Linked DNA regions of Homo sapiens: region 2 is linked to region 1. Evidence: promoter capture Hi-C in human tissues and cell types (Jung and others, 2019). All regions are on one chromosome and are shown on one strand. The core of a region is centred on a gene start or on the middle of the fragment in contact, and the rest is flanking DNA. Distances in the headings are between cores, read along the strand shown.

Region 1 (4,284 bases), core at 129-2,628:
GCTTAGAATACTACCCAGAAATCCGTATAAGACCTCTATGAGGCCGGGCGCGGTGGCTCACGCCTGTAATCCCAACACTTTGGGAGGCCGAGGCGGGCGGATCATAAGGTCAGGAGTTCAGGACCAGCCTGGCCAACAGAGTGAAACGCCGTCTCTACAAAAATACAAAAATTAGCCGGGCGTAGTGGCGGGCGCCTATAGTCGCAGCTACTTGGAAGGCTAAGGCAGGAGAATCGCTTGAACCCGGGAGGCGGAGATCGCGCCACTGCACTCCAGCCTGGACGACAGACCAAGACTCCGTCTCAAAAAAATAAAAATTAAAATTAAAATAAAAAAGACCTCTATGAGATCTGGCCTTCTTGCCGTTCATGATACAGGTTAAACATTCCCATCTCAGGTCCTTTGCACTTGCTGTATCTTCTGCCTTGACCACATTTCCCTCAGACATCTGCAGGGGTTACTCCCTCAATTTCGGTCCGCTCAAATTTCACCTCCTCAGAGCTACCTTCGCTGACTCTATAAAAAGCAGCCACTCCTCCAAGCTATCCCTTTCTATACAATAACCATACAACAATGACCACCCCACCCCTGACATCATATTACATATTTCTGATGATTGTCTGCCTTCTGCTCTAGAATGTACGCACTATGAAGGCAGGGACTTCAATCAATCCTCAGTGTCTACAACAGAAGCTAGCCAAAAGTTTAACAACAACAACAAAACACCAAGTGCTCAGTAAATACTTGTTTAGTGAATTGATGAATAAATGCTAGCTGTTTTTATTATTACTACTGCACCACGGGCCCTTTCCGTCTTAGCTCCGCCTGTCATAACAACGTCTTTAAGGCCTCCTTCAAATGCCCCCAGCTCCGAAAGGCCTTCCACGACTCCGCGCTCAACTCCTCAGGTGGAATGAATCCCACCCTCTTCTCCAGCACCCTTCACCTGCCCGACTCAAAAAGCATTTTTCCCGGTGACTCGAGGAGGCGCCCCCGAAACTCCCAGCGCCGATCAGCAAAGCCCTGGTCGGCGGAGCAGCAAAGCCAGCGGCCTGATCCGTTCTGCCGCCCCACAAGACCACGCAGGAGACCCTCTCTCTGCTCTGAGCCCCGGCCCCAGGATCCCCGGGCAAGGCCCGTTGGTCGGCCCCGGCCCGCGGTGGACATGAGCGCGGTCTCTGGGAGCCTCCACCCGCCGAGAAGATCAGGCCGGCAAAAGGAGAAGAGGGCTGTCCCAGTTCCTCGGGCAGCCGCCTCTTTCTCTCGCCTCAGGCTGCTGAGACCCCATCGCACCGCGACGACCAGCGGAAAGAAACCCTTAGTCACTCACCATCTTGCCTTGGCCACTTGAGCTGCCGCTGCCGGAAGTTCCTCCACCACTGCGGCCCGCCAGAGGCGGAAGTCGTTAGGGACGCTACGGAAGCTGATAGGAACCAAATTCTGCGCTGACCAAGTTGTGCTCCAAGGGCTTGTGCGGGCGGTCTAGGGCAACGCAGCAGTTTATAAGCATAAAGTGAACTTTATAAATATTTTACTTGAAAGAAATTTTTGAATACCCGTTATGAGGCGCTTGTCAACAACTTAAGACAATGACCCCTACTGTCAAAGAATTAGGACAATCGTGAAAATATAAAATATTTAAATTATGCAAAATTTATAACTGGGAAGAACTTTATGGTTCTAAAAACTGGAATGGTATTTGGAACTGGGAAGTTGACATATACATTTGCACAAATATTTCAGTTATTATTCAGCTTCTGGAATTTAACCTGCACATCTGGGAGTATGTGTGTAACGAGTCTTCTAAACCTGTCTTTTTCTGATGACCTGTGACTTGTGATGATGCCAAATGTCTTAAATTCCTCATCTTGAAGCTGATTGGTAAAGTTCCTCATTTGTTACACCCTCCAGGACATCAGAAAAATGGCAACAATCCCTTCTGTTTCTGGAAATTTCATTAACAAGTGCTCAAAATACTGCATCTTTCTGAACTGGAGAAATGGATGATTTTTTTTCTGCTCCAGATTGATTTAGGGATTTTAGTTGTGAAACACTAAAAATATTTCCCTTATGAACACACAACAGGTATACTTCTTCCTTTTCATCATCACTGCAACACGGTAATAGAAAGTCTTAGCACTATCGACCTCTGTTAACAAATCTGGCATCTAGTGTACATGACACATGAAATCACACGATAGGACAGTATCACACATAGGATAGAGATGGTGAAACTCCCATCTCTACTAAAAATACAAAAATTAGTCGGGCATCATCGTGGGCATCTGTAATCCCAGCTGCTTGGGAGGTCGAGTCATGAGAATCTCTCGAACCTGGGAGGCGACGGTTGCAGTGAGATCACGCCCCTGCACTCCAGTCTAGGTGACAGAGCGAGACTCTGTCTCAAAAAAAAAAATTAATAAAAATTTAAAAAACAAAATAAATATCCTTTCCCTAATGCATTTTACAAGAAACAAGTAAATAGTAAAATATATAGTATGCCACATAGTGGTAAATGCCATAGGAAAAATTAATGCCTAGGAAAAATGCCTAGGATTAGGAGCATGCAGCAGTGGTGGGTGATTTTAACTTTAAATTGGATGATACTTGAGCAAAAGCCCGTAAGGCATGAAGGAGTAAGCTATTCAGATATCTGGTGGAAGAGCTTTCTAGGTAGAGGGAACAGCCAGGGCAGAGGCCCTGCAGTAGAAGCTGCAGAGGATGGAGATTAGAGACACCATATAGTGAAGAAGTCAGAAACAGGCACATAACTCCCAGTGGAAGCTCAGCGGTTAAAGGCGAGTCAATAGAACCCAGTAATGAAGAGAGTAGCCAACGTTGGCATCAGACTTTCCTATTGTGGCTGTAGGAAGTGACATAAAGTAAGCAGAAAATTTAAGTTTATCTACATAATGGACAGCTAAGAGAAAGCAGGGAGAGGATTAGAAAGACTACTTGGAGTGCTCAGCACTTGGGGAGGTTGGAAGTTGCAAGTGGAAAAGAGGGAGAGTTGCAGAGATGACTGTCAACCGGGTGGGGAGGATTGAGAGTCAGCCATAGGGCAAAAGAGATGCACAGGGGCTGGGCGCCGTGGCTCACGCCTGTAATCCCAGCACTTTGGGAGGCCGAGGCGGGTGGATCACCTGAGTTCAGGAGTTCAAGACCAACCTGACCAATATGGTGAAACCTCATGTCTACTGAAAATACAAAAATTAGCTGGGAGTGGTGGCAGATGCCTGTAATCTCAGGTACTCGGGAGGCTGAAACGGGACAATCGCTTGAACCTGGGAGGCGGAGGTTGCAGTTAGCCGAGATTGCGCCATTGCACTCCAGCCGGGGCGAAAAGAAGGAAAATCCATCTCAAAAAGAAAAAAAAAGAAAGTGACCATAAATGTAGTGCTCAAAGCTAGAAGGTCTCTGGGTTAGAAGTTCAACTTGGGTCTCACAGGGCTAAAATCAAGATACCAACAGGTTTCCTCTCCGGAGGCTCTGCTCTAGCTGTGTGACATCAGCAAGTCATCCTCATTTTCTCATCTGTATAACGGGATAATTATCTACCTTGCCGGCTGAGGATACGGAGAGGATAAAACTCTTGTTTTTTGATTCTTAAGAGATTTTTGCCAAAAGTAGATGGAATGGAGGCTGAGGTAGGAAGGTGTCCAAACGTGGACGGAGGGCTCATGCTAGGGTGGACAGAGGGGGCGGGGCCGGGGTGGACAGAGGGCAGGTGCCAGAGGCGAGCGTGCATCCTGTTCAGCAGCCCCCCTGCAACCTCAAGCACATCAGAACCAGCCCAGATGCTGACAAAATGCAGACTCTGGTGCCATCCGCCAGAGACTGTGATTCTATAGGCCCATGGCAGGGCCCAGACACCTGCATTTTAACAGATACCCCAAGGGATTCTGAGGCTGGGTGACTCATACACCACATTTTTAGAGCCGGAACTCCAGAACACTGGTCTGCAAAGCAGGGCAGCCACACCCTGGTGGCCCAGGGGCCCATTCGTGTGTTGGAAGAAGCCATCAGAATGACTTTTTATTTAAAAAATAAGAATAATTACTAATCAAACAGCCAAGGGGTTAACGCCAGGTCTCGTTTCCAGCCTTGTCACCAGTGAGCTGTGTTGTTGTGTCTCAGTTCTGTCGTCTGTGAAATAGGGACCTTTATAGTTCCTCCTTCATGGTGCCATTGTTTGAGGACTAAAGTAAAATGCTGAGAATTGCACTTGGCATAGGACAATTACTCTAGGTATCAGCTACTCTGATTATTATTATTATTTTGAGA
Region 2 (4,284 bases), core at 1,190-3,689, 58 kb before region 1:
CCGGTACTCTAAATGTGTAAGAAGCCTTTGGAAATTGAGAAGAGTTGATGTATGAGAGGAAGTTGGTAGATATTAGATATTTCAGTAATGAGGAAGAAGAGCTCATTGTCATCTCCAAAAACAAGGACCACAATTAAATGTTTTGGTTTTTTTATTAACAACATGTTGACATAATATGTGGCACTGAAAATAAACCTTTTTATAATGATTTTTTTTGAAAATTATTATTATTATTTTTAAAATAAAGATGAGGTCTTGCTACGTTGCCCAGGCTTGTCTCAAACTCCCAAGCACCTTCAGCAGTCCTCTTGCCTTGGCCTCCCAAAGTGCTAGGATTATAGGCATGAGTAACCACACCCAGCCAACCTTTAATAATGTCTTAAAAATACTATATTTGTTAAGTGGTAGGTTACTTTCATTTAAAGATGTATAAATAAGAAAGTATAGGTTTAGAAACTATTAAAATTGGAATTTCTTCACCTGTTATTATTTTAGATCCAATTCCTAAGTCTTGCAGGTGAGGTGTAATCCAGTAAGTTACTGTGTAATATATGGGCAAATAGTAAATCTGTGTGAACATTTATATAGTTCCATCTTAAATATTTGTTGACTTATTTACATAGTATTATTTTTCCTACATCTTTTTAGAAAGTAATTTTAAAGTTGATTTTCCCAAACAGGAGTCATCTGAAATCAGAGTCTTCAGATGAAAGTGACACTAACAAAAAGCTCAAACAAACAAGTAGAAAAAAGAAGAAAGAGAAAAAGAAAAAAAGGAAGCATCAGCATCATAAGAAAACAAAGAGGAAGCATGGGCCGTCGAGTAGCAGCAGGTCTGAGACAGACACCGATTCTGAAAAGGACAAACCTTCCAGAGGCGTTGGAGGCAGTAAAAAGGAATCTGAGGAACCGAAGTAGGTTGCTGTTCTCAAGCACCTATGATATTTTAAGTCTTGAGTTTTTCTCCCTTAATTGTTGCCGCAAATTAGATATTTGAATAACCATTTAGTCACTCAGTCGGAAGAGAGCTCTACCATTATATCAGCTTAAAAAAGAGAAGGAGAAAAATTAGGGACACGATTTTATTTGAGAAATGTTATTTAGACACAGTAATGATTGTGTGAATCTCTTTTAGACAAAAAGTCTTTGGGATTTTCAAAAGATGGCAGATGTGCCACAGTGGGTCTGTGAGTCAGTGCCGTTATCACATAGATAACGGTTCCCTCTCTGAGGGCCGTGGGTCTCCACACTCTGGGTAGGAGAAACATCTTCTTTCTCTGCCTTGATATATCTTTCATTCAGTCACTCCTATCAACTCCTGTGTGTATACATGATCACACACACTTTAAGATTAACGTAGCACTTAAATAATTGTTACATTTGTCCTTTTCCTTTTCTTTTTCATATTTGTTTAAGACCACTATGTCGAAGGCAGTGGAAAACAGCTCATGATTACAGTGTTTCCATTCCTTGGGGGCTTTATTTCTCCCATATTTTACTCTGCTTTCTTTCTTTTTTTTTTTTTTTTTTTTTTGAGACGGGGTTTCACTCCAGTTGCCCACGCTGGAGTGCAGTGGTGCGATCTCAGCTCACCACAACCTTTACCTCCTGGGTTCAGGCGATTGTCCTGCCTCAGCCTCCCGAGTAGCTGGGATTACAGGCGTCTGCCACCACGCCTGGCTAATTTTTTGTATTTTTAGTAGAGATGGCATTTCACCATGTTGGCCAGGCAGGTCTTGAACTCCTGACCTCAGGTGATCCACCTGCCTCAGCCTCCCAAAGTGCTGGGATTACAGGCATGAGCCACTGTGGCCTACTCTGCTTTCTACCTTGAGCATATTGTTCAATTCATTCTACAGAATGGCCACAGCATAGGTGCTCAATACAGCCTTTTCTCTGTGCCTAGTTGAATGTCTTCCTAAGTAGAGGGGTATTTGCGTGTAGGTGGGACAGGTGGTATATGGTGAAACTACCTGAATTATTGCTCATTTAACTTTCTCCTTTATTTGCTCATATGGTCTAGAAGGGAGAAAACTTAGGTACCTGTCTAGAACATCTCTAAAAAAGAAATAGTGCTGTTGAGGTTTTTGCAACTCTTCAGGAATTTTTGTTTCCTTTTTTTAGACAGAGTCTCATTCTATCACCCAGGCTGGAGTGCAGTGGTACGATCTTGCCTCACTGCAACCTCCGCCTCCCGGGTTCAAGCGATTCTCATGCCTCAGCCTCCCAAGTAGCTGGGACTACAGGCATGCATCACCACACCCAGCTAATTTTTGTAACCCAAGCTTTTTTTTTTTTTTTTTTTTTTTTTTTTTGAGACAGAGTATTGCTCTGTCGGCCAGGCTGGAGTACAGTGGCACGATCTCGGCTCACTGCAACCTCTGCCTCCCGGGCTCAAGCAAGTCTCCTGCCTCAGCCTCCCAAGTAGCTAGGATTACAGGCATGTGCCACCACGCCCGGCTAATTTTTGTGTTTTTAGTAGAGACGGGGTTTTTCCATGTTGGCCAGGCTGGTCTCGATCTCCGATCTCCTGACCTCAGGTAATCCACCCGCCTCTGCCTCCCAAAGTGCTGGGATTACAGCCATGAGCCACCGCACCCAGCCCCCAAGCTTGCTCTTTAGAGGAAAAAATAAAGCAGTCCGGCAAAAAGGTTCTGAATTTGACTGAATTTTTGAGGGTAGGAATCAGGCCTGTCTTGCTTACCACCATATTCCCACAGCACGTGGTGCACAGGGCCCATTACAGAGTAAGCACTGAATTTGTTTTTGTTACATGAATGAATGAATATGTTATTGGTGTCCTTACCTTTTACTGTGTCTTTAAAGCAAGCTACTTTAATTGTTACGTCTTCCCAAAACTCAACTTCTAGCTACTTGTCCTTTTTTATAGCTGGGGAAAATGAGTTTTAAAGGATTTCCTGAAACCACACAGGAACTATCTTTAGAACTTGAAGGATAGTTAATTTCAGCCTATGCTTAATCATGTCAGGGAATCTTTACAGCCTCTTGATAGTTTTATGATCCAGATAGCATTTTTAAGTTTATTGATATTTTATAGAATATCCTTATTAAGATTGTTCTTGTCCTTCTCTTTTACTGTCTTGTTATTAACTTATGTATTCTCTTCCCAAGAAGGTGACCTGGAAGAATTATTTATTTCCACATAGACAAGGACTACAATATTAGTGAATTGTGAGAGTCTTTCTGTGATGTCAGGAAAGTGGGTTCGTGAGGGTAGCAGACCCTATGAGACTCTGTTTCAGGGTGATGACAAATGACTTCCCCAGAGGCCACAGCTACTAATTGACCTTGAGTTTCTGGGATGAGCTTTCCCTCACCTTCAGGTGGAGGCAGCTCCTTCCTTGCACACAGCCCAGACTACCATATCCTGCTTCCTTAGCTCAGTACCGCCGAGGGGAGAGGAAAGGGCCTGTTGACTCCTCAGGGGCGGTCTGCAGCTGGCTTCTCCTTTTTTTCTCCCAGTTGGCTTTCCATTTATTTCTCAAATGCATCAATCAGTTTGCAGTAGGCTCTCCATCTTTTCATTGCCCGTTATGGTTTTTGTAGACAGGAAGCCCTCTGCAGTTGGGAAATGTGTTAAAATCTCCATACATTAACCTGAGGCTCATCATTCAACAACTATTTATTGAATAGCTACTTAGTGTTCCTGAAATGCCATTCCCTTATATTCCCTGCCAAGAATAATTAAGAAGCCTCCAAAATCTTTATTTGTACCTGGGCAGAGCTGAAAAGCAGAGATGGAACAACAGTTAATGGCTGTTTTGACTACTTTGTCACCTTCTTGTGTCAGCAGCATTATGAACTGATTTTCTTTAGAGGAAGAAGATGTTAGATGCCAGAGAAACCTTCCCTCCCTCTCACTTAACGCCCCGGGAGTGGTTCCTTTTGGATCTGAGCTGAAAGTCTGCCAGCCTACACATTGGTTCAGAGAGATACATTAGGGTCTTGTCTTCAGGGGAGCCTCGTGATTCTGCCCTTTATTTACGAGGTCCAGATGTATAAGCAAAACAGCGAATACAGAGTCCAGACCATAAAAATGAGGCTGAGCCGGGCACGGTGGCTCACACCTGTAATCCCAGCACTTTGGCAGGCCGAGGCGGGTGGATCATGAGGTCAGGAGATCGAGACCACCCTGGCTAACATGGTGAAACCCCATGTCTACCAAAAATACAAAAAATTAGCCAGGTGTGGTGGTGGGCACCTGTAGTCCCAGCTACTCAGGAGGCTGAGGCAGGAGAATGGCGTGAATCCGGGAGGCGGAGC

The links. Contacts are between HindIII fragments. The study calls those that stand out against the background at their distance.
Region 2: a fragment that was not itself captured here is called in contact with the fragment with the promoter of PSMC1 in region 1 in 1 of the 25 tissues and cell types used here (pancreas).

Annotation. Positions count from the first base shown.
Region 1 is chr14:90,253,647-90,257,930 of GRCh38, reverse strand. PSMC1 (proteasome 26S subunit, ATPase 1) reads right to left here and starts at 1,378. Exons shown (of 11, transcript NM_002802.3): 1 at 1,331-1,378. The coding sequence starts at 1,333. RefSeq lists enhancers at 675-1,202, 1,088-1,327, 1,203-1,732. The HindIII fragment of the contact is 25,675 bases long and covers 1-4,284 here.
Region 2 is chr14:90,313,208-90,317,491 of GRCh38, reverse strand. NRDE2 (NRDE-2, necessary for RNA interference, domain containing) reads left to right here. Exons shown (of 14, transcript NM_017970.4): 3 at 681-914. Among named protein-coding and RNA genes, the nearest start is that of NRDE2, 17 kb to the left of the region's middle. The HindIII fragment of the contact is 3,189 bases long and covers 845-4,033 here.